2 separate regions of the Homo sapiens genome follow, and region 2 is linked to region 1. Evidence: promoter capture Hi-C in 16 types of primary human blood cells and fetal thymus (Javierre and others, 2016). All regions are on one chromosome and are shown on one strand. Each heading gives the region's core, a stretch centred on a gene start or on the middle of the fragment in contact. The rest is flanking DNA. Distances are from core to core; before and after follow the strand shown.

Region 1 (2,625 bases), core at 78-2,577:
TTACATTCCCACTAGCAATAATCGGGACGTAAAATGGCTCAGGCCACTTTGGAAAAGTTTCTTAAAGTATTAAACAGACATGTACTGCATGATCCAGCAATTCCACTCCTGAATCTGTCCAAGAGAAATGACACATACGTTCACACAAAAATTTGTCAGCAAAAGTTCATAGCAGCATTATTTACAACAGCCAAAAAGTGGAAACAACCCAAATGTCCATCAACAGAAGAAAAGGTAGGCAAATGGTGATACATGGATACAATGGAACATTACTCAGCAATAAAAAGGAAATTATTGATGCATTCTTAGTGAAGGATCTCAGACAAAAAAAAAAGCCCACATACTGTAGACTCCGTTTATATAAAACCCTAGCAAATGCAAATTAATTTATGATTACAGAACGCAGATCAATGGTTGCTTAGCGATGGAAGGTGGGAAGCAAAGATGTCAGAGGGGTATGAAGAAACTTTCTGGGATGATGTGTACACTATTTTGATTGTGGTGATAATTTCACAAGTATACAGACTACAGTACACATATATATCAAAACTTTAGGTGAGTGTAGTTTACTGTATATTAACTATGCCAAAAAAAGGAGGACTGTTTTTTTAAAAAAAATGTAAATTCTTCAACTCCTTGGACCTCCCCAGAAGAAATGCTGGAAAAAACATTTAAAGCAACCTAAAGAGGGAAGTGGAGTGCGACCCATCTCTGCCTTGAAAGGTGCAAGAGTTTACAGAGTAACTAAAGAGCTCGATTGAATCTAAAAAAAATTGGCTTCAATTCTGCAGAAATCTGGTCTGGAAAACATCACCTCTACAAATCCGACTTTTGGGGACACTCTTGAGTGTGAATGGGGGAGACCCTACACCTAAGGTTTGCCCAGGGCAGCCCCGATGACATCCACGGGCCCCACGTAAAGAGGAAACCAGAGGCCCTTTCCCTCCCAGCTGCATCCCCCTGGCCTCGCGCGCCCGCCTTCCTACCTGCATGTTCCTCAGGAGCTGGAAGATCTCCATGGTGCGGTACACGATGTCCTGCACTGTCTCCTGCCCGATGCGGCACAGCGACGCCGTGTTGACTTCCCGGGCGGCCTGCTGAGCCTGGGGCCCGGCGAAGGGCCCGGGCGCCATCCCCGACGCGGCCAACGGAGGGGTGGACATGGCGCGGCTGCAGCTTCAGGCCGGAAGGGGCCAGACAGCAGGTGTCAGGGGTCTGCCCGGAATTGGGAGGCTGTGGGGCCTCAGCGTTGGAACCAGCTTGAGAGACCCCCCGCGGCCCGATTTCAAAACAGCGGCCGCGACTTCCGCCCACTGTGACGTAACACGTCAGAAAACGTCATAGACACCGCCCACTCGGCGAACTGTCTCCGAGCGGAGCCGGGCTGGATTGGATTGGACCCCTGGGCGGGAAAGGACGGACGGGTTAAGTAGCCAATCACCAATTGCGCTCCAGCCAGAGGGGCGATGTTCTTGGGGAGCCTGGGGTGAGTTCCCAGAGTTCGTTTCCCAGTCTTGGCTCAGCGTTAGAACCTTCTGTGTTTAGTTCCTTGCGGAGCATTTTCTCTTAACAAGCCTGAGGTTTGTAGTATAACAGCTAAGAGACAGGTTAAAGTACTTGTTGAGTCGCATACAGGTGTAACTGGCAACCTGCGATTCGAATTCAGAAAACAAGATTCCTAAGCTTGTACGCTTCTCTGTGACATGATACGGACTCCCCGATTGCTCTTGGTCCCTGCTCAGATGTTTTATTCTTTGAGTTTTCCCAGTATCTGTAAGCAAAAAAAATGATCAACACACACACTTCTTTCTGACTCTGGCTCTTATTAGTGTCTGATTTTTTTTTCTTTTTCTTTTTGAGATGGAGTCTCGCTCTGTCACCCAGGCTGGAGTGCAGTGGCGCGACCTCGGCTCACTGCAAGCTCCGCCTCCCGGGTTCACACCATTCTCCAGCCTCGGCCTCCCGAGTAGCTGGGACTACAGGCGCCCGCCACCACGCCCGACAAATTTTTTGTATTTTTAGTAGAGACGGGGTTTCACCGTGTTAGCCGGGATGGTCTCGATCTCCTGACCTCGTGATCCGCCCGCCTCGGCCTCCCAAAGTGCTGGGATTACAGGCATAAGCCACCGCGCCCGGCCTACTGTCTGATATTTTATATAGCTTTCAGTTTGTTTACTTTCAGACTTTATCTCACCCTATCTACACACACTGCCAACTCCATGAAAACAGACTATTTTATTCACTTATTCTCAACACCTAGTGATTGGCACAAGTATCAATAAATACTTATTGAATGATTGTTGAGTGACATGATAAATGCAAGAGAAATTAAAATGTCTCTCACAATGTCTCTCACTTACTGTTCATCTCCAAAGTGGGGAAAAGTGAAGAATGTAAAATTAGTGATAGGCACAAACATTGCATTTTTTAGAAGTATCTGAATGCTCCATTGTACGGACTTTCCAGGAAATAGTTACTAAATATGTCATAGGAACCCTGGTAGAGATTTTAAACATAGTAATTCGCAGGTCTTCGGTAATTACCATTCGACAAATATTGGCTGAGCACCTATTATGTGCTGGGTGCTAGGAGTGAAGATAGCGTACTGAACAAACCAGGCAAAAG
Region 2 (2,625 bases), core at 47-2,546, 2.1 Mb before region 1:
ATGTGGGAAAGCTAGCAACTTGAGAGCCAACTGCTGGTTCTTTTCAATGAACACTAAAGGGAACTTTTTTTTTCTGTTTCCTCTTAATATATTACTCTGGCTAAAACTGAGATTGAAAGAATTAAATGCTGTTTCCTTAATGAATGTAAAATTGAGTCACTCATTATTTTTAAAGGTGACTTCTTTTGGAAAACAGTCATTAAAATCCTAGGCTGGTACCCTGGAGTCCTGTAACTTGCTGTGTGGTGTTGGGCAAGTCACTTGTGAAGTCTGTTTCCTTAGCTGTACAATGAGGAGCAGACTTAGATGATTTCTACTTTTCTTTCTGGATTAAAAAAAAAAAATCCCAGGAATTATTCTGTTTCATTGCCTCTTGAATTTCTGTGCTCACTACTGGAAAACTTGAAAAGTATAGATTGGATTTATTAGTCTTTGAAAATATTTTGTGTATAGTAAATTATTTCCATGTTATAAGAATAGCTATATGAACTAATGAATAAATGCCACTTCTAGAAAAGTAGTATGGTCTATATTATAATTTATAAACCTAAATGGTCTTAAGTGGGCTACACGAATTTGCTCCTTGAATTATTTAATTAAGTCGTTGGTTATTTTAGGCCTTTATGATATCATCTAAAATAATTTATTAAACTTCTAACCACGTGAAGCTTAGTCTTAGAATACAATGCAACCTAACTCTGAATTTTATGGTTTGGATATGCCTGAATAATTTTTCTTTTGATGTAGCTTATGTGCTTTTTAGGAACTGTGGTTGATTTCTCCTGAATAAAAATCAAGGATGTACTTAGTAAACTAGGTAAAAGCATCCTGTAGACAGTGGAAATATCTTTATGCGTTTAAATGCTGCATATGCTTAGAAAGGATCTCTCTCGATTGACACATGTGACTGGTTATTCTGACCATTAGAAAAGCCTTCCCATCAGAAAATACTGGGTGAATTTTATAAGCCTGTAAGAATAAGACACTAGGTGGGGAGGAGGCAGCCATGCCTATTTCCAACAACATTTTTAGGCGCCAAAGAAATCCTGGGAAGCTCAGTGCTCCAAGGGTGCAACAAATAGAAGGAACACAAAGGGTATTGATATATGGCTAGCTTCGGATTGATCAGAGTGAGATCCACCATTCAAAAGCATGCAGTTGTTTAGTAACCATAGCTTCTCAGAGTCCTCAACAATAGCTGAGAATGTTCTGTACACATGGATGCCCTCGCTGCTGTACTATGGACTGGGGTGTTAGTTTCAAGGTTGTGGCAGTGCAAACAGACTGTCATAATTAATTAACTAACACACTTGTTACCTGGATTTATTGTTAGCGTAGGAAATAATGGCTGAACAGGATTTTTTATACCAGGTCATAAAAGATTTATAGATTTATTAGGAGATATGAAATGAGAAAAGCTACTTATAATTCTGTTGGGTAAATACAATGGGCATTCAGGTTAATGAGACGGTGAGATGGGTGGAATAAATTTTCTAAGAAAATATAAGCCATAACTGTGATTTAGTTTGACATCTTTTTCTCATATGTCTGATGTGGCCCACTTGATTTGCCTTTAAGACTGCAAGAGACTTTATATGTCTACAGGTGTCTGTGCACTCATGTGCACTTGCAGTGTGTATGTTTGTGGTGTTATGCAGGAGTCTATTTTATTGAAACTTGTGATTTAGAAACTGTCTCCAGGTGGAAATAGAATATCCTCTTTGATATGTAAGTAATTTAATTCTTAAAAGACAAAAGGAAATTTGTGAGCTTGTGAATAGCTGGCTAACAGAGACTTAAAAGCTCAGTTTAATTCATCATTGTTTTTAGTGGCTTGAAAGGAAAGTTGAAAAGTATGTGAATGAAATTCATAGGTTCATATGAAATGTAGACTGTCACTAACAACTTTATGGATAAAGCTTTTCTTTGAGAATCATAGGGAAATCAGAAAATGGAACTAGAAGTGAGAAGGTTTATGTTCATTTGATAATTTTAGAAATTTTGCTCTGCAATGAAAAGCTATTTAAATGTTGGCATGGGAGAATGCAGGAAACTGTAAAGGGGACGTAGATCAGCCATTTGCTCTGTGAGCAAAACTCGGTCATTAGGATTATCCTGTCATGGGGCTTTATGTGAAATTTCAGGTAGAAATTGGGGAGTTTGAGTCAATGGAATGAAATTATCTGAACTGGAAGCTAAGGAGGGTACAGATTTTTCAGTTCTTTGTTAAATGGGGCTGTAGTGTAGTGATTTTTCATCTATCTGAAAACTGTAGAGACTCCTCTATCTAGTTTACATACTCAGAAATCTCAGTCTTCCATGAACTTCAGCCTAGATTTTTGAATCAATAAAATCAGCAAATCTTCCCCAAAATTATATTTTGAAAAGAACTTCTAAAATTTGAAAACTATGTACAAAAGTTTGAAAAACCTTTCATTAATGAAAAAAATACTGTAGTTACAGTGAGATGATCTAAAATTTTATCCAGGCCTTGGCTAACTCATACAAGGCCTAGAGATCTAATTTTCCAACCAGGAAAATGGGGATAAAGTCGCTTTTATTTATCTGAAAAAGTTTTTGAAAATGCCTTTAAGGCTGATGAGAACTATAAGGTGTTAAGTATAT

The links. Contacts are between HindIII fragments. The CHiCAGO score rates a contact against its expected background, and 5 or more counts as called.
Region 2: a fragment that was not itself captured here is called in contact with the fragment with the promoter of MED30 in region 1 in 1 of 17 cell types (naive CD4 T cells); the score reaches 5.1 in naive CD4 T cells.

The regions. Positions count from the first base shown.
Region 1 is chr8:117,519,415-117,522,039 of GRCh38, reverse strand. It overlaps MED30 (mediator complex subunit 30), which reads right to left and starts at 1,327. Exons shown (of 4, transcript NM_080651.4): 1 at 987-1,327. The coding sequence starts at 1,163. LOC105375716 (a long non-coding RNA gene) reads left to right here and starts at 1,320. Exons shown (of 7, transcript XR_928569.3): 1 at 1,320-1,486. The HindIII fragment of the contact is 1,953 bases long and covers 1-1,685 here.
Region 2 is chr8:119,634,502-119,637,126 of GRCh38, reverse strand. The region is part of intron 2 of ENPP2 (ectonucleotide pyrophosphatase/phosphodiesterase 2); the gene reads left to right. Among named protein-coding and RNA genes, the nearest start is that of ENPP2, 3.0 kb to the left of the region's middle. The HindIII fragment of the contact is 1,251 bases long and covers 671-1,921 here.